Regions from separate parts of the Homo sapiens genome. Here regions 1, 3, 4, 5 and 6 are each linked to region 2. Evidence: promoter capture Hi-C in 16 types of primary human blood cells and fetal thymus (Javierre and others, 2016). All regions are on one chromosome and are shown on one strand. Each heading gives the region's core, a stretch centred on a gene start or on the middle of the fragment in contact. The rest is flanking DNA. Distances are from core to core; before and after follow the strand shown.

Region 1 (3,261 bases), core at 638-3,137, 7.9 Mb before region 2:
AGCATGATAGAAAAAGAGAGATAGAAACATGAATGAATTTTTTTTTTTTTTTTTTGAGATGGAGTCTCGCTCTGGCGCCCAGGCTGGAGTACAATGGCGTGATCTCGGCTCACTGCAACCTGTCTCCTGGGTTCAAGTGATTCTTCTGCCTCAGCTTCCCGGGGAGCTGGGATTACAGGCATGAGCCACCACGCCTGGCTAATTTTTGTATTTTTAGTAGAGACGGGGTTTCACCATGTTGGGCAGGCTGGTCTCAAACTCCTGACCTCAGATGGAGTCGTCCTGACCTCAGGTGGAGGCCTCAGCCTCCTAAAGTGCTGGGATTACAGACGTGAGCCACCGCACCCGGCCACATGAATGAATTTTTAAATTAATTAGATATCCTTCATTTGGGGGTTGCAAATGTTGTACCTAATAGATTTCTATTACCTAATCTATGACAATTTAAGTATTCAGGCTATGATGCCCCAAATTTGTTTTTTTCCCTAGCTGTTACTTTCAAGTCTAATTTCTAGGCAACTCATTTCAAAACAAATGCTGACTTTGGGTTTTTTGTTTTTTTTTGTTTGTTTGTTTTTTTGACTGACTGTTCTTAGTTGTTTGAATTCTGAAGTATCCATTCTAGCTCTTATGGAAGCTGTCAGTAATGAAATAAAAGTTGAGATGTAGCCCTAAGCTTTTAGGGTTACCTGAGATTTCAACTGGATTTGCGTTATACATTATTTTAATTCAGTTGTGCCTATGATAACTGTAATAGATGTATTTAATACAGCTTTCAAAACTCCTGTGTTTTAATTGAATTCTATTCCTCTTGGTCCATTCGCTTAGGATTTAGGATATAGCACTATTTTTTAAAAATTTGCTTGCTTGTTTGTTTGTTTGTTTATTTATTTATTTATTTATTTATTTTTGAGACAGAGTCTCGCTCTGTTGCCCAGGCTGGAGTGCAGTGGCGCGATCTCGGCTCACTGCGACCTCCGCCTCCCAGGTTCAAGCAATTCTTCTGCCTCAGCCTCCCGAGTAGCTGGGACTACAGGTGCATAACGCCATGCCCGGCTAATTTATTGTATTTTAGTAGAGACGGGGTTTCACCGTATTGCCCAGGCTGGTCGTGAACTCCTGAGCTCAGGCAGTCCACCCACCTTGGCCTCCCAAAGTGCTGGGATTACAGGCAGCACTAACGTTAAGGAAAGTAAAATCAGTTATTTTAGTTCGAATGTCTTGCAGGTATGATAAGCATATTATAATTGATGAGTCTCTTGATAATTATACTCAGGTATTTTGGGGGTTAATGTGGACTATGGTAAAAGTGTGTGAAGAACTGAGGTGGTGGCATTTATGGAGTAAAAAATGCATAGTACAAACCCAGTACTTTAATGTTTTCTTGAAATGTAAAATGAAAGCCACCTGTTCTATTCCCCCCATACTCATGGACCATATTTATGTCTAGGTGAATAATCTTAAAGAATAATTATTTCTTCTCATTTTATCTTTGTTACATGGAAGAATCTACTGCAAACAACAGAGTTTTGAGAATTTTTAATGTTTTACACAATATGCACGTAAGTTTGTGCCTTGGGGTTTTTAAGAATTTTCTTCCACAAGTCACAAAGATTTTTTTCCACATTTTCTTCTATTTGCTTTATGGTTTTACCTTTCACATTTATGTCTTTAATGTATCTGGGCTTCACTTCTGTATATAGTATTTGGTGGGAATTCATTTTTAACTTTTTTCTCCGTATATGGAGCCACTCCCAAGGGTTTGTTGTTTCCTCACTGGTGTATGGGGCAGCCTTAATTAGACAGTGGGTTTGCTTTTGCACCTGGATCTGGCCAGTCTTCTGTCTGATTCATCTTTTTCTGAATCCCAGCGCCATACATGTTTGTTATCTCATAAAACAAGTTCCCCTTGTCTTTTTTCTCAGTTTGATACAGAGTTAGTTTTTTGTGCACGATTATTCTTTCATATGCATTTGGAATAAGTTTGAGTTTCTAAATAGTAGTAGTAATAATAATAATAATAAAACCAATGATGAGACTGCATTAATTTTTTTTTTCTTGAGATGGAGTCTCGCTCTGTTGCCCTGCCTGGAGTGCAGTGGCACGATGGCTCACTGCAAGCTCCACCTCCCGGGTTCACGCCATTCTTCTGCCTCAGCCTCCCAAGTAGCTGGGACTACAGGCGCCTGCCACCATGTCCGACTAATTTTTTTGTATTTTTAGTAGATACAGGGTTTCACCATGTTCGCCAGGATGGTCTCGATCTCCTGACCTCATGATCCGCCCACCTCAGCCTCCCGAAGTGCTGGGATTACAGGCATGAGCCACCATGCCCAGCCAAGACTGCATTTAATTTAGGGAGAGCTGAAGTCTTCATAATGTTAAGTTGACCTATCCCAAACCATAGAAAGTCTTGTTTATTCAGATCTCATTTTACTTCTTTTAACAGTTGAACATTTTTCTTTTTATTTATTTATTTATTTATTATACTTTAAGTTTTAGGGAACAGTTGAACATTTTTCTTCACGGAGATCTTGCATATTCTTTCTTTAGTTGGTTCCTAAGTACTTTATGGGTTTTGTTGCCATTACAATGGTACCTTATTTTGTATTGTATTTTCTAATTGTTGCTGGTGTAGAGAAATACGGATTATTTTAAGTCGATCTTTTATCTATTAACTTTGCTGAACTCTAATTACTTCTAATAATTTACTGATTCTTTGTGATTCGGTCTGTGATCCTATGTGAATGTTTATACAAATAGTGATGTTTTGTTTCCTCCCTTCCAATCTTTATTCCTGTTTTCTTTTTCTCTTTTTTTCTTTTCCTTAAATAATCATGGCCAGGAGCTCCAGTTTAAACACAGCAAGGCCAGTGGGCATTCTTGTCTTCCTGAACTTAGTGGCAGTGTTCCCTGCCCTCCTTCTCCCTTCATCTCACTGAAGGGCCCTGTCAGCTTCTTTGTGGATTCTCAGTGCCTGTCTTGGCTGATGCCTCAGCAGTATTTAACACTGTCGACTTCTGCTTCCTCCACTTCCTGAGACTGTGTCCTCCTTGCTCTTCTCTCTCTGCTGCTTCTCTGTCAGTCCTGTTGCTGGGCTAAGCTTCCCCTGCCCCTGTCCTGAGTGTTTCAGTGATCCTCAGGCTCACTCCCCCACCCTCTTCCTGCTGAGCTCCCTCCCTGAAGGACTCCCTCCCACGCTGGCTTCAGTTCACTGTGACTATGTCCTGACTCCAGCTGGTTCCTTAGATGGCCACACAT
Region 2 (3,207 bases), core at 395-2,894:
GTAGAAATTTAAAAGGCCCGAAAGAGATGGGAAACTTTTATTGTTTTGTTTTGTTTAAGTATCAGATTGGAAATTATTGGCAGGAAATGTTTTTAATTACATTTTTCTGATATTAAACCCAACACAGTTGTACTTTAATATTTTCCCTAGGAGAACTACTTATTTTACAACTATATCCCAGTGTATCACCCATGATCAGCCACATAATTTGAATCATGCATTATCTTCTCTCCACATTCAAATTACATACATTTAGTATTTGGCTACTTAAAAAAAAATCATTAAAAAGTAACAATTTAAATCCATTGATGGGAGAACCTCAGTTAGTTTCAAAACAACAATTCTTGCCAGGCGGGGTGACTCACGCCTGTAATGCCAGCACTTTGGGAGGCCGAAGCTGGAAGATCGCTTGAGCCCAGGAGTTCAAGGCCAGCCTAGGCAACAGAGGGAGGCCCCATCTCTACCAAAAAAAATATTAACAATTAGCCGGGCATGGTGGCATGCACCTGTGGTCCCAGCTACTCGGGAGGCTGAGGCGAGAGGATCGCTGGAGTCGGAGGTGGGGAGGCTGCAGTGAACCGTGATCGCTCCACTGCACTCCAGCCTGGGCGACAGAGCGGGACCCTGTCTCAAAAAATAGATGAATAAATAAATAAAAACAATTATAATGGAAGTTTGGATAGGAATTTAAAACATGTGGCAACTAACCCTGACCCTGCGGCTTCAGTCTCCCCGCCGCTAGCTGAGGGCCGTGGCCGCTGCACAGAGGCTTGTGAGGATTCGGGGGTTCAGGCAGCGCCCGCCGCGCATCTGCCAGACGTGCGGCCACAGGGTAGGAGCAGTAAGAAGGATCCAGGGAAAAAAGTCCACGAATGAGAAAGGAAACCCAGCGTTTGTAGGGCTAGGAGAACAAAGAAAGAAAATGCTGGCGGCGGAGGGCGAGGCTCTGCGGTGCGTGGCAGATGGGAATTTGCTCGGTGGCGGCTCCTCTTTCTGGAGAGCTTCCCAGCGTCCCCTCCCCCGCCAGCCCGCGGTGACGCGCCCGGCACCCACCACAGCCGGCTCTCGGCGCCGTCGCGCCTTCGCTCGCCCGCTTAGGCCGTGCTCGCGGTGGCGTGGGAGACAGAGAGCCCAGGGAGGACCCTGGAACATGCAGTGGTATGGAAGACGCCTAAGAAAGGGCTTCTCTTTCCACTCACGAAAATCAGTGTGTGAGCTCGAAGCCATTTCCCAGCGTGTCCGCCTCAACTCCCTCATTCAACAGATGAGGAATTCCTCCAGGGAAATGCAGTGATGCGCTCACGGCTGCCGGCGGCCCAGCGCCAAGGGGCGCTCCACAGCCCCGCGGCCCGAAGCCCTCGACTCGGCTGCCACGCAGGCCCCGCGGCCCCGCTCGGACTCCCAGGATCGGCTTCCGAGCGGGACAGCGCTGCAGTCCACGAGTCCGGGCAGGGGCGCCTCCAGGCCGGAGCGGTTTCCTGCCTCGGGCACTCTGCTGTCTCCACAAACGGTTTTTGGAGGCACACACACGGATACTTTAAACACGTCGGTGATGAATCGGTACCCAGCTGCCAGTGGCGGAGCTTCCTGGGCGGGGCCGCGGGCGCGCGGCGGCTTCATTTCCTCGCGCGCGCCGGAAGTGGCCTCTCAGGCGCGGCGGCGCGCCCGGGGGTGGGTGGCTGAGGCGGCGGCGGGCCCAAGGCGTGAGGCGCCGCCCGGGTGTCCCCGCGGCGCAGGAGGCGGTGGAGCGCAGAGCGGGCGAGCGCGGTGAGTACCTGGCCCGGCCTCGCCCGCCGGTCCGCGACTCCCGCCGGCTCCGGCCCGGGCGGTGCGGGCGCCGGGGCTGCGGGCTCCTGTGTGGTCGGGTGGGGTCGCCTAGCGGACCGGTCCTGCGGGGGGCCCTGTCTCTCAGGGATGAGCCTGCCGGAGTCGGCACCGGTTTTAGGGAAAGCGCGGCCAGAGACGATTGGTTCGCTTGTCAGTGTTGGGTTTTGTTTTGTTTCGTTTTGTTTTTACCTATTCATCACCATCTCTGCTCCTCTCAGTGGATAAACTTTTTAATCAGTGGTGACCTCGTCATCGCGTTAAAATAGTTCTGCCCTCAGCCCCTCTTTATCTGTAGATGGCAGAGCGAGCGCCGGTAAAGATGCTCTGTCGTGGAGGGCTCAGTGGGGCGGAGGAGATGGGGAGCCTCTGGCGTTGTCGGAGAATGCACCTTAAAAATGACTCTACCCTTGAGCAACGCAGGAAGCACGACAGTGATACTTCTGTTTGTGATGATGGTATTGGCGGTATGATAGTTTGATTATACATCTGAAGCTTCTCTTCCTGAGTCCTTGGCTTGTTAAACTTGGAGGTATTTTCTAGCGTGCTTTTGAGATAGATATGGGATGTCGTGACGTTTCACCGTCATTCAAGGCTCGCGGGAGCAGGGCCTTCATGTCTGGTAATTAATGTTGTTTTTTGAATGTTGTATTAAAATAGTAGCTTCGATCTTGGAAGTAAGAAGCCAAGTATTTTAGGACTGAGTGTTAGCGTTCATTTTGTATTATTGTTCTTGTACCATTTGTTTAAAGTTGTCATGTAACTAAAAGAATGAAAAAAGATGGATTTCCAGTATTTGTGGCTCAGAGGATTTTGGCCTAAATAAACACAGTTCCAACCAGTTTAGAAGCTGCATTTTTCTCTTTGTTTTTGTCGAGGCATAAAATACATATGAAATCAATAAGAGCACGAATCTTAATTGTACAGCTCAATGAATTTTTACATACTTATTACCCTGTGGAACCACCAGATATATCAAATTATAACCATAGAACATTTCCATCATCCTATTTTCCTGTGCTTCTTCCAAGTCAGTTATATCCTTGTTTTCCCATCTGTATTCTAACTTCTCTTATCTGCTTTTAGTTTTCTCTGTTTTGAGCTTCATGTTAATGGAATCACGTAGTATTCTCAGCATATTGTTTGTGGGACACACCCATGCTATTTCATGGTATTGTATTATTACTGTGTAATAGTCTATTGAATAATATGTGACTACTCTTCAGTTGATGGACATTTATGTTCCCAATTTTTGTATATGATGTGTTTTGGATATTAAGAATACTGTGGGCCTGGCGTGGTGGCTCAGGCCTTTTATCCCAGCGCTTGGGGAGGCCGAGGCAGGTGGATCACTTGGTCAGGAGTTCGAGACCAGCCTGGCAA
Region 3 (3,327 bases), core at 64-2,563, 5.1 Mb before region 2:
CACAATGTGCACGTGTACCCTAAAACTTAAAGTATATAAAAAAAAAAAAAAGTTAGCTGCGCATGTTGGCAGGCACCTGTAGTCCCAGCTACTTGGGAGGCTGAGGCAGGAGAAGTGTTTGAACCCAGGAGGCAGAGGTTGCAGTGAGCTGAGATCAAGCCACTGCACTCCAGCCTGGGCGAGAGAGCAAGACTCCATCTCAGAAAAAAAAAAAAAGTGTAGCTCAAGCCTATTATCCTAGCAATTTGGGAGGCTGAGGGGGGCAGATCCCTTGAGCCCAGCAGTTCATGACCAGCCTGGGTAACATAGCAAAATCCTATCTCTACAAAATATACAAAAATTAGCCAAGTGTGATGGCATGTGCCTGTCGTCCCAGCTACTTGGTAGATTGAGGCAGAAGGATCCCTTGAGCCCAGGAGGTTGAGGTTACAGTGAGCCAGGAAAGCACCACTGCACTCGAGCCTGGGTGACAGAGTGAGACCCTGTCTCAAAAACAAACAAATAAAACCCAGCATTTATATATTCCTAGCAGCACTATTCACGATATCAAAATTATGGAACCAAGCTAAGTGTCCATCAACAGTTGACTGAATAAATAAAATATGGTACATATGTGCCACAGAATATTACCCAGCCTTTAAAAAGAATGAAATTATGTCCTTTGCCACAATATGGATGGAGCTGGAGGCCATTATCATAAGCAGAGTAACTCAGAAACAGAAAACCAAATACTGCATATTCACACTTATAAGTGGGAGCTAAACAATCGGTACAAATTGACACAAAGATGGAAATAATAGACAACTGTGGACTCCAAAAGGGGGGAGGGTGGAAAGGGGTGAGGACTCACTATTTGGATAATGTTGACTATTTAGGTAATGGGTACACTAAAAGTCCAATCCCCACCAGTTCACAATATGCCCATGTAGCAAACATGCACATGTACTCCTGAATCTAAAATCAAACAAAGTTAAAAACATAAAAAGCTTAGTTATGCTAAAAATAACTCCCCCCCTCAAAGAAAAACAGCAAAAGCCCCCACTAAAACAAGAGAAAACATAACTGGTAGGCTGAGTAGACTGTCTTCCTGATGTGAGTGGGCCTCATCTGGTCAGTTGAAGGATTGAATAAAACAAGCCTTCTTATTGACACATTAGCTTTTTCCTGCCTTAGGACTTGAATTGAAAGATCTGCTCTTCCTGGGCCTCATGCTTGCAGGCCTTCAGCCTGGAACTACACAACTGGCTCTCCTGGGTCCCCAAACATGGACTCATCATCCTTCAGATCTTGAGAGTTGTCAACCTCCATAATTGCATGATTGCATAAGCCAATTCCTTATGATAAATCTCTCTCATATATATACACATATGTAAATATATACACATGTATATATGCAAGTATACAAACACACACACACACATGCACACACACACTTAGTTTCTCTGGAGAACCTGATATAATACTTAAAGCACATTTAATGAGGAATTACAATATTCCAGGTAGGCCTTGGGCTAGGGGCTCCTACATTTTATTTTCAGAACCCTGGGTGGTAGAGTAGATTGACCCAGTTTGAAGATGGTAAGTGAAAACCAGAGAGGAGTTCCAGATCCAGTGAACTACTTTCACTTGTTAGTGGGGACACAAGCTTCATCCAAATTGGTAGGCCACTCCTGCCACCCCCAGCCACTCTGGGGTGGATAAGTGGTCATTCCCAGGAAGGTGATCAAGCTCCCCTTCTGTCCTTATGGGACGGACTTTTCCAGGGCCCAACCTTACCGCAGTTCAGTAGTCTGCCTCTGTGCTGCTCCTGTGACTGTCCCGCAACTCCCGAGTCGGTTGCGTTTGCACTGTCAGGGGAAGGCTCCAATAAACAGGAGAGCCATTCTCCTTCTGGGCTAAGTCTTACCCAGTGGCACCAAGGGTCCCAAATCTCCTGCATCCTGTGGCTCTAGCCCACAGGCAAAGGAGACAGAAACCTGCCATCTCCAATCCCAGACAGGCCCCCAGATATGTTACGGGACAATCAGAGATGGGAGAGACCGAACAGAATTCAGGAAAGCCTTTATTAAGTTGATCACCTGGCTCAGTAGGACTAGTGTCCAGGAAAGTCTGAACCCTGGACAAAGAATGCAGCCTCCTTTTAAGCTTCCAGTGGCCAGGAGCTATGTGATGCAGGAAGTGTACTTACAGAAGTGAGAACAAAGGCAGTTGATCAGTCTTTTACATTTACCTATACTACTTGTTCCACATCCTTGGGAAACAATGTTTCTGTAACATATACTTATCAACCTTGTAACTTTGCAGCTGCACTAGGGAGGTGAAGCAGGAATTCACTGAGCCCCAAGGAATGGGAAACTGGTGAGTACAGATAAGGCTTGCTGAGCACAGAAGGAAAACCAGGCAGTTAGTATTCTTCTCTAACTTAGACTATGGGGGTGGGGGCTATACTACACTTAGCTTAGAAGGAAAAAGTAAAAATTTCTTGGTGGTCTTTGATTATACTTGCAAAATTCATGAATTCCTTCTTCATTGGAGGTTGCAGTGAGTTGAGATCATGCCACTGCGCTCCAGCCTGGTGACAGAGCTAGACTCCGTCTCAAAAAAAAAAAAAAGTATTTGTAAATTTGGGATACAATTTACATACAAAAATTACTCCCTTAAAAGTGTGTAATTCAATAATAATTATAGTCACAAAGTTGTACAACCATCACCACTATCTAATTCCAGAACATTTTGATCACCCTTCAGCTTCTTTTAGTTCTCCCAGAACTCTCCACATTGATCCCACTCTGGCTACCAGCACTAGCTGGACAGTAATGACTCTCAGAGGTGAACACAATATGCCTCAACATGCCTTTCTGGAAGTTCACATAGGAACTGCACAGCACCTGAATTCCAGTTCTGCAAAGCTCTTCTCTGAATACTGGAGGTACCAGCATGATCCTGGCACTGCCCCTGCCTCCGCTGTCTGTCTAATTGTAGCTCTCTGGGGCCACTCTTGTGAGTTTCTAAGTTCTGAGGACCTTAATCTTTTCCACTGTTTCCCAGCCCTAGACAGGTAGCTGCTACCTGATGTTGTCATCCCGTGTTAGCTCAGTGTTCATTTTTACCATTAAAACACCTGCTTTAAATAATCTTCATCAAATTCTCTCAGTTGTAATACTTGAGTGATCTCTCTTTTACCATTTGAAACCTGATTGATGTAAATATACTTGCACAAATCAACAATAATTTATTTTATTATTATAAAGTTATATAAGTGGAATTACAATATTATAAGTCCTTTAAAGTTTAATTAAAATGAGGTTCTTGCCAAGAATGTACATT
Region 4 (2,944 bases), core at 254-2,753, 8.0 Mb before region 2:
TGGGAGTAAAATACTGGCAAGAAAGGAAACCGTAGAGCAAATACTTTGCAAATAAGAAATTGCCATTCCTTTGATTCTTTTTGATTCATATGAACTCCTGTTACAGAGACAATTGTTGTGGATACATTCCCTTTGACCTACGAAAATTAGATTTGAACAAAGGTTCAGATTGGATTTAGATTAAGTCCTGCTCAGTGAAAATTATGAAAACACTCTGACACTACAGTAACTGATATGAAATAATAAATCCTCACTTAACATTGTCAATAGCTTCTTAGAAACTGGTTTTCAGTGAAACAACGTACAATGAAACCGATTTTTGTTATCATCAATATTATAACGAAATGAAAACAACACTGAATGAAAATTTTTTTGTGGACCTGCTGTAAGTTGTTTGGCTTAAAGCCATGATTTCTAAGAACCTATCGTTAAGTGAGGACCTACTGTACTCTATAACCATGCTGCTATTCTTTATTCCTGATATCCCATTACTTTTTTTATTTTTGAGATGGAGCCTCGCTCTGTCACCCAGACTGGAGTGCAGTGGAACGATCTCAGCTCACTGCAGCCTTGACCTCCCAGGTTCAAGCGATTCTCCTGCCTCAGCCTCCCAACTAGCTGGGACTACAGGCGTCTGCCACCACTCCTAGCTAATTTTTGTATTTTTAGTAGAGATGGGGTTTCACCATGTTGGCCAGGCTGCTCCTGACCTCAGGTGATCTGCCCATGTCTGCCTCCCAAAATGCTGGGATTACAGGCGTGAGCCCCCGGCCGACCTTTCTAATCTAAAAAAAAAAAAAGAGATGAAGTCTCACTGTGTTCCCTAGGCTGGTCTCCTGGGCTCAAGCGATCCTCCCACCTTGGCCTCCCGAAGTGTTGGGATTACAGGCCCGAGCCAGCGGGCCCAGCATGCGGACCATTTCCAGTCAAATACTGGGATAAACTGCAATAAATGACCCTAAGAAGCAGGTGAATTGTCTCAGGAGCTCAAGCTTCTTTTGGAGAAGGACTCAACCAGCTGTGACTGGCTGTGAATATGGAGGAAAAGGGCCACTAGTCAAGGTATGTAGATAGCTTTTAGAAGTCAGAAGAAGCACGCCTGCAGTCCCAGCTACTCAGGAGGCTGAGGCCGGAGGATCGCTTGAGCCTGGGGAGATAGAGGTTGCAGAGAGCCGAGACCACGCCACTGCAGCCCAGCCTGGACAGAGGTGAGACGCTCGCGGACCTTAGCTTGGGGTTGGCGGCGTTAGGAAGAAACCGACCTCGAGACCCTGAAGACCTGACAACAGCCGTTACTCTGGCTGACAAGTCATTGGATTTCTGGCGCACGCGCGGCGCGGCACGGGCAGCTTCCGGTTTCCAGCCTTGCCCCCGCCCCTACCTTCCGCCCCACCTCCAGGCTAGTTCCTCCTCTTGGCCCCGCCCCCTGACCTTCCTTCTCCCTATCCCTAGGCCCCGCCCCCTGACCCGCACCTTCCCGCCGCCCCTCCCCGGTTCCATTTCATTGTTGGATTGTGGCGCTTCACTCCTGCTGGCGGCCGGCAGGGGGCGGAGTTCGAGCCTGGATTTTTTTCCTCGGGGCCTCCCCCGGGAGGCCGTCCCGGCGTGGGGGAGGGGAGGACGGGGCGGGAGGACGCGGTTCGGTCGGCTGCAGCGCTACTTTTGGTCCGGGGTCGGCAGGGAGGCCGCGGCTACCGCATCACAGCTGACGTGAGGACTACGTGGGGCCGCTGCCGGCTCCGGGTTGCTGGGCGGCGGCGCCGCTGCTGAGCGGCGGTCGGGCTCGCCGTCTCCACCTCCTCGCGTCCGTAATCAGTGACGAGGTCCGCTACGTAAATCCCTTTGCGGCGGGTAAGTGGTGCGTCGGCTCCGGCCCCGAGACCCAGCAGCGGGCGACGCGGCGCAGGAGGTGGAGGTGGAGGCAGGAGGCGGAGCGGAGCCGGGTGCGGTGGAGCAGCAGAGGCCGAGCGGAGCCGTGGGCGGCGGGCCGGGACCCCGGGGCCGGGCCAAGGACTGGCGGGGCAGCCGCGAGTTCACCTGACGCGGCCCCTCGCTCGGCGCCCCCGAGGCCGCCGGCTCGCCGCCCCACGCCCGCTTCGTGCGCTCAGCTGCCCCGGGACCCGCCTGCCTCCTCGCGAACTTGGGACGAGTTGGAAAATCCTCCCTGAGAGAGCCGTGCGGCTCAGGGGAGCGGTTTAACTCGGAAAAGGAAAAGGAATCCAGAAGTAAGGACCTCGGATTTGAGTGCCCCCAGCGCCTCTGCCCCACTTTACGAGCGCAGTTTAGACGAAAGCGGACGCAGCCCGTTTTCCCCCAAAACCTGGGCCGGAGGGCCTCGCAGCTGAGTCATTCGGTCCCGGGCGCGGGCAGTCTCCGGAGTGGGAAGGGCAGAGCCGCGACCGCTCTCGGAAGGCGCATTTTCCCTTCTGCCTGAGTCTTGCCTTTTTAGGGCCATCTGGTAAGGTTTCCAGAGCCTGTTGAATCTGGGGAATAAACACATTATTAAACATACTTTTTTTTTTTGAGACGGAGTCTTGCTGTTACCCAGGCTGGAATGCAGGGGCATGATCTCGGCTCACTGCAGCCTCTGCCTCCTGGGTTCAAGCGATTCTCTTGCCTCAGCCTCCCGAGTAGCTGGGATTACAGGCATGCGCCACCACGCCTGCTAATTTTTGTATTTTTAGTAGAGATGGGGTTTTACCATGTTGGTCAGGCTGGTCTCGAACTCCTGACCTTCCACCCACCTCGGCCTCCCAAAGTGCTGGGATTACAGGCGTGAGCCGCCGCGCCTGGCCTCAGCATGTTTCTTGATCCTGTTGCGTTTTATTTGTATATCAGATACCTGAGTTTGAAATCACTTAGGGGTTTCCTGCATGCTGCTCAGTGAAGCAGCGGTGAGTTTGTAATCACATTTTAAGAAATTGGGACTTACAGGGCCAGTCTC
Region 5 (3,151 bases), core at 435-2,934, 5.0 Mb before region 2:
CTTTGTTCTCTTTGAGCTCCAATCTGTCACTGATTTTCACTGATTTTAAAAAATTTTAGTTGTTGTACTTGTCAGCTCCAGACAGTCCTAATTACATTTTTATAATTTTCTACTCTACATTAATATTTTATATTTGGCACAGCATCATTCTCCTGGTTTCTGTTAGTTCTTTGTCTGCTTTCATTTAGCTCTTTGAGCACATTTAGAACAGATGATTTAAATTCTTTATCTAGTAAGACCAGTATCAAAGGTGTCTTTGAGTACAGGTTTTATTTCTTTTTTCTGTGTGTCTGTGGGTCATATTATCTTCTTTGCATGCCTCATAATTTTTTATTGAAAACTGAACATTTTGAATATTAAAATGTGCTAATTCTAGAAATCAGATTCTTTTCCTCAGAATTTGTTGTTGCTGTTTATTTTGTATTATTTGCTTATTTTGTGACTTTTATAAACTATTTTTGTAAAGTCAGTGTTCTTTGTTGTACATGGTCACTGAAACCTCTGTTCTATTAGTTTAGTGGTCGTCTGTGATTTGACAGAGATTTCTTTAAATGCCTAGAGCCAAAACAAAACAAAAAACTCTTCTGGTCTGTGCATATTGGCCCTGTTTTAGGGCGCTCCTGTAATGGCTTGCCAGGCCATTTACATCTCTGCATTAACCTTTACTTCCTGCTTACACAGAGCGTGAAGGTCAACCAGATGTGAAAGCTTAGGTTCCTCTCAGGTTTTTTCTGAGCATGCATATTGTCTTGGACTTACACATGATCTCAATTCCCTGCTTTATGCAGGAGCTTTTCAAACCCCTTATCCCCACCCCTGGCCCCATGTGTTTCCTTCCCAGTTTTTACATTCCCAGTTTTTCAGTCCATCTGCTGCTTTTCTCATCTGGCTACTGTGGCCAGATAATTGCCTTTAAATGCTTTCAACAAGCACTTCCTGGAAGACTAGCCCTGAGAAAGTTTCAAGGAAGGCAAAACAAAGACAAGCCTGTGAGCCACTTCTTCAGAGAGCCCGCATAGACAGATCAAAATACACAACTACAGTTCTCTGAAAACAAGGTGCATACTGTCCACGTTGGCACAGGCATCAGCAAGTCATACCAGGAATGTTCTGGGTGTACTAGGTTTTTAATTAGATTGGAGAATTCTGAAAAGCTTGATGCTGAGAGGTGTTTTTTGTTTTTTTTTTCTTCCCCAGCTTAATTGTTGCTTTAGTTTGGGATGGAGTTTTGGAGTTACCTTTTCCATTTTCAGCCTACCCCCCACATCAGTTTTTGAGTAATTACTCTGTGGAACAACAGATGTGCCTGGCCCATCTTGTCCTTTTCCTGCAGTACCTCTACCATTAGCCATTTCTCCAAAGGACATTGTTCTTTCTAGTGGAGGATGGAATTTAAAAACCAAGATCTGGGTGCTTATTGCTAAAGGTTGTCACTGCCTCAATCCCTCTCAATTGACAGTTAGGAAATACATGTGTGTATGTATACATACACACACACACACAGAAATACACATGTGTACACCTATTTTTGTATTGGTCTGTCTATACATATTTTTTAAACAATGAGTTTACGTAGACATTTCCCAGTTTCAATCTTAACCCCATAGCCTTTCTGTTTTCCATCTTTGTAACTTCTTTCTTCAACAGTGAGAAACCAGGCTATACCATTATCCACAATATTTATTTGCTCCTTCTCCCTGTTTGCATCCAATATTTTTTCTTTTTTTTTTTTTTTGAGATGGAGTTTTGCTCTTGGTGCCCAGGCTGGAATGCAATGGCATGATCTCAGCTCACCGCAACCTCCGCCTTCTGGGTTCAAGTGATTCTCCTACCTCAGCCTCCCAAGTAGCTGGGATTACAGACATGTGCCACCATGCCTGGCTAATTTTGTATTTTTAGTAGAGACAGGGTTTCTCCATGTTGGTCAGGCTGGTCTCGAACTCCCGACCTCAGGTGATCTGCCCACCTTGGCCTAACAAAGTGTTGGGATTACAGATGTGAGCCACCGTGCCCAGCCTGTATCTAATCTCTTACCTGCCAGTGCTACCTGTCTCCTCAGCTCTGGTTTGATCCCTTAGATCACCATTCCTGGAATTATCCATAGTTGCTATATTAAATATTCAAATCAGATTTGATGTATTAAAACATTTTAGAAGTTAAAAGGGGCCATTTGACTAAGTCTTCTTATTTTTGGAAAAACATCATTACTTTATGTAAGCTTATCAAAAATAAAATTTCTGATTATTAGCAGCACAGTATCTAAACCTGTCTCTATAGGTTGTCAAGCCACTACTTTGTCCATTAAATTATAAGGACACTTATCCCATTCATGAAGGCAGAGCTTCCTAATCACCTCCTAAAGGCCATGCCGCTTCATACTATTGCAATGGTATTAGATTTCAACATATGAAGTTGTGAAGGGGACATACATTCAGACCATAGCACTAAGTATTTTATTTTACTGAATACTACCATAAATGGAATTATTTTCTGAATTTCCTTTTGGATTGTTCATTGTTGGAGTATTTTTTTTAAAAAAACCTAATTGTTGTGTGTTGATTTTGTACTCTGCAACTATGCCAAAACTATTTGTTAGCTCATAGATGTTTTGTGGATTATATGCTAAATAATGTTATCTGCAAATAGAGTAGTTTTACTTCTGCCTTTCAATTTGAATGTCTTTTATTTTTTTTTTCTTGCCTATTTGCTCTGGCTAGAACTTTTAATACAGTGTTGAATTGCAGTGGTGTGAAAGCACTATCATTGCCTGTTCATGATCTTAGGGGGGGATCTTTCAGTCTTTCACTGTGGAGTATGTTACCTATGAGTTTTTTGTATATGTGCTTTATTATGTGGAGGAACAGGCAGCAGTCTTTGCTGTTTGGCAGCCTCCACTGGTGATACCGAGGCAAACAGGGTCTGGAGTGGACCTCCAGCAAACTCCAGCAGACCTGCAGCAGAGGGGCCTGACTATTAGAAGGAAAACTAACAAAGAGAAAGGAATAACATCAACATCAACAAAAAGGACATCCATTCAGAAACCCCATCTGAAGGTCACCAACATCAAACACCAAAGGTAAATAAATCCACGAAGATGGGGAGAAACCAGCACAAAAGGCTGAAAATTCCAAAAACCAGTACACCTCTTCTC
Region 6 (3,157 bases), core at 57-2,556, 5.2 Mb before region 2:
TATATCAAAATATCACATGTACCCCACAAATATGTACATTATGTACCAAAAAAAAAAACTAAAATAAGCAGCAAAAACCACTTCCAGCTAGCATGGTGCTTACGAAATGCCTAAGCTCAGTTATCAGCCAATGAGAGGCATTATAAGATCACCACCATAAAATGGAGGAACTGATGAACTGCAGTTTTCATCTTTAAAAAAATTTTTTGTCCCATTTCCTGTCTTTAGAAACTAGCCTCTGGGCTGGATGGGATTCCCAGCTTCTCCTGTAAAATGCAAAATTGAGGGCTCAAATTGTGGTTTCAATTTACACGTTTCACAGTCCTCTGAGAAGAGACTAAGGTTGGAGGATGCAGGAAGGCCTTAAATAATTCACCTTTTGACTCAAGTGCTCTGAAGATTCCCCAAGCATTTTTGGAAACAGAACACTACCTGGTTGAGACTGGGTTCAAGTACACCACACAGCTACGTTCTGGTGGTGCTCAAGGGGCAAATGCTGTGCTAAATACAAGTCAAGACTGGATTTTAGTGTGGCAAGGCGCATTAACTCAGAGGAAAAAGTGAGGATTTACATCCCACCTGCTAATACTGTGGGTAAACGGATTTCTCTCTCTGAATCTTTAATAGTCACATTTATTTTAATAGAGATGGTTAAGTCGAAAGGATGGTTACGATGATTAAATGAGCCAATAATGAAAACAGCATGTTTTGTAATAATAGAAGCAGCTCACCTTTATTGAGTCCTGTATCATACTTTACATCTATTACCCTATTCAGTACCCAAAGGCCCCCATCATTTGCCAGATGCGCGTCGAGCCGCACTGGGACCACCTACAGACGCTGGACCAGAGCCCACGTCCCTGCGGCTTTGGAGCGCCGCGTCTGCAGCGGCCAGCGCGCCTCACATGGCGGCTCCGGTCACGTCACACAATGCGGCTGCTCCGGGCGCCCACTGCCCAGCACCGCAGGCCTCCTCTGGCCGCCCCTCAAGCAGGTCGCGCAAACGCCATTCCGGGCAGGGGCGCCAGCGCAGCCAGCCAACCTCCCCACCAGGCGGCTCCCACCCAGGGCCCTCCGCGGAGGCCGCTCCGGGGCCAGGAGGCGGCTTCCAGGCTCGAGACCCCGCCTCCCAGGCCCTGCCCGCCCGCAAAAGCCTTCGACACACCTGCAGGGTCTCGGCCTCTGCTCCCGGCCCGCGCCGGGCCCAGGCCCCGCCCTTTGCGGCCCAGCCCAGACCCGGAGGCACCGGAGTCCTCTCCCCACCCTAGGGCGTAAGACCAAAAAAACGCCAATGCCAGAAAGAAGACACTGCACATGCGCAGAACGTTTCCCTAGCCCTACTCCAGAACTACGCTTCCCAGAAGGCCCGGCTGCGACTCCATCTTGGATGACGTCGTGAGGCGCGGCCGCCTCCAGCGGCCTGAGTGATTGCTGTCGGGTTTCCGGGAGAGGGCGCTGTCCTTGCTCAGTGATGGCCGGAGAGCTGCACCCTGCACGTCTGGGCTTGAAGACAGAAATCCACCGTGAGGTGCTCCAAGGAACACTGATGGGCAGTTTTGTTAAAGTGATTGAACTCCGTGGGTACAGGAGTACGTGGAGTAATGAAGGATAATGCCCTGTAACCGCTTCCTCTTAGGAATGCTAGCTTTCACAATTGTGCAAACGGTACGCGAAACGTAATAAACTACAAAATATGTATAAGCTAAAACAGAAAACGAGTATACCACTTCCCAAAAGCAAAAGCGCTTAATGTTAGGTGAACATCCTTCTCATGAATTTACACAAATTTTAACCTAATGGTATAGAGTATCATGACTATCATTTCACTAAGGAATATATATAGTCATCCCTCCTTATCCTGGGGGTGCATATCTATGGATTCAACTAAGCTCAGAATGAAAATACTTAAAAATTCTATCTTACTGAACATGTACAAAGTTTCCCCCTTGTCATTATACCCTAAACAATACAATAAAACTATTTACATAGTATTTACATTGTGTTAGGTGTACAATTAATCTAGACATAATTTAAAATATACAGGAGGAGGTGTGTAGGTTATGCAAATATCAGGTTATTTTCTACCAGAGACTTGAACATCCCTGGATTTGAGTAATCCAGGGAGGTCCTGGTACTAATCCCCCGCGGATACAGAGAGAGGACTTGGCTGTATATGTAAAACAAATTATATATTTCCTGGTCAATAACTTTATTACATTAAAACATGTAGAATCATCTAGAAAAAAACGTATATATTGTCATGTGTATAAACACACATATATATACATATAAAAATATGCGCACATAATACACACACACACACCACCTTTCTGGATGGGAAGTATTGAGGAAATAATTTAAAATAAAGCCTCTTGCCAACCCAGAAAATTCTCTCCACAGATGGAGAAAAGAACAAAACAGTTACATTATTGAATAAACATTAAACCAGACTGCGATGTGCGTCACAGGCAACCCACTAATGAGTTTATGAAGACAGGAAGAACTATCATTTTTTGTATTAGCCGGTCTGGTACAACGCATTCTATTTCCTCAAGGTAAAAATAACTTGTCCTCAAGTAAGATGACTGTACAGCAACATTTGCTATGCATAATTCATCTGAAATTCACCTGATAATTAGGGTAGCCATCAGTGTTAGTTAATTGCCATTATGCAAATGAAAAGTAAAGTTTCTGGTATCTCTATGACACGCAGGTAGTTAACCGCGGGTAGCCAGGAGCCTAGGAGTTTACCACAGAGGCAGGGAGATGGGGTGCAATCTTCCTTGATGCTTACATTTCAAAGACATGACCCAAGGCCATTAAGAAAGACCTTCCTGGGTTGTTAAACTAGCAAGAAGCTTATTTACTTTTTAAAAAGTTTTGCTATATCTCACAGGGACAGAGAAGGGATTTACAATTACAAGTTTTCTTAAGGAAATGCTGTAAGAAAAGAGAGGAGTAAAGGTCTTTTTCCCTTTTTGCAAGAAGGAAAATTCAGTTGTTTTATTTTTTTCTTTGAGACAGAGTCTGGCTTTGTCACCCAGACTGGGATGCAGTGGCATGATCCCGGCTCACTGCAACCTCTGCCTCCCAGGTTCAAGGAATTCTCTGCTTCAGCCTCCTGAGTAGCTGGGATTACAGTCGCCCACCACCACGC

The links. Contacts are between HindIII fragments. The CHiCAGO score rates a contact against its expected background, and 5 or more counts as called.
Region 1: a contact is called between a fragment that was not itself captured here and the fragment with the promoter of CSGALNACT2 in region 2, in 1 of 17 cell types (M0 macrophages). The highest score is 5.6, in M0 macrophages.
Region 3: a fragment that was not itself captured here is called in contact with the fragment with the promoter of CSGALNACT2 in region 2 in 2 of 17 cell types (naive B cells and activated CD4 T cells); the score reaches 8.6 in naive B cells.
Region 4: the fragment with the promoter of CREM here is called in contact with the fragment with the promoter of CSGALNACT2 in region 2 in 6 of 17 cell types (naive CD4 T cells, non-activated CD4 T cells, total B cells and 3 more); the score reaches 10.3 in naive CD4 T cells.
Region 5: a fragment that was not itself captured here is called in contact with the fragment with the promoter of CSGALNACT2 in region 2 in 1 of 17 cell types (activated CD4 T cells); the score reaches 7.7 in activated CD4 T cells.
Region 6: the fragment with the promoter of ZNF25 here is called in contact with the fragment with the promoter of CSGALNACT2 in region 2 in 4 of 17 cell types (naive CD8 T cells, naive CD4 T cells, total CD4 T cells and 1 more); the score reaches 19.1 in naive CD8 T cells.

Annotation. Positions count from the first base shown.
Region 1 is chr10:35,188,623-35,191,883 of GRCh38, forward strand. All of the region lies in intron 6 of CREM (cAMP responsive element modulator), which reads left to right. Among named protein-coding and RNA genes, the nearest start is that of LINC02634, 54 kb to the right of the region's middle. The HindIII fragment of the contact is 2,427 bases long and covers 675-3,101 here.
Region 2 is chr10:43,136,801-43,140,007 of GRCh38, forward strand. CSGALNACT2 (chondroitin sulfate N-acetylgalactosaminyltransferase 2) reads left to right here and starts at 1,645. Exons shown (of 8, transcript NM_018590.5): 1 at 1,645-1,767. It overlaps CSGALNACT2-DT (CSGALNACT2 divergent transcript), which reads right to left and starts at 1,593. Exons shown (of 1, transcript NR_186456.1): 1 at 24-1,593. RefSeq lists silencers at 942-1,141, 1,272-1,331, 1,502-2,001, 2,112-2,181. The HindIII fragment of the contact is 5,511 bases long and covers 1-2,317 here.
Region 3 is chr10:38,001,416-38,004,742 of GRCh38, forward strand. ZNF25-DT (ZNF25 divergent transcript) reads left to right here. Exons shown (of 6, transcript XR_930830.4): 5 at 2,305-2,358; 6 at 2,749-3,140. Among named protein-coding and RNA genes, the nearest start is that of ZNF33A, 7.6 kb to the right of the region's middle. The HindIII fragment of the contact is 659 bases long and covers 985-1,643 here.
Region 4 is chr10:35,125,343-35,128,286 of GRCh38, forward strand. CREM (cAMP responsive element modulator) reads left to right here and starts at 1,504. Exons shown (of 8, transcript NM_183011.2): 1 at 1,504-1,851. It also overlaps a transcript of CUL2 not described here. RefSeq lists silencers at 1,392-1,911, 1,972-2,111 and an enhancer at 2,472-2,541. The HindIII fragment of the contact is 8,974 bases long and covers 991-2,944 here.
Region 5 is chr10:38,103,288-38,106,438 of GRCh38, forward strand. The region is part of intron 5 of ZNF37A (zinc finger protein 37A); the gene reads left to right. Among named protein-coding and RNA genes, the nearest start is that of ZNF37A, 11 kb to the left of the region's middle. The HindIII fragment of the contact is 1,064 bases long and covers 1,153-2,216 here.
Region 6 is chr10:37,975,341-37,978,497 of GRCh38, forward strand. It overlaps ZNF25 (zinc finger protein 25), which reads right to left and starts at 1,307. Exons shown (of 6, transcript NM_145011.4): 1 at 1,166-1,307. It overlaps ZNF25-DT (ZNF25 divergent transcript), which reads left to right and starts at 1,415. Exons shown (of 6, transcript XR_930830.4): 1 at 1,415-1,665. RefSeq lists enhancers at 191-280, 1,321-1,550 and a silencer at 871-1,280. The HindIII fragment of the contact is 11,670 bases long and covers 1-2,856 here.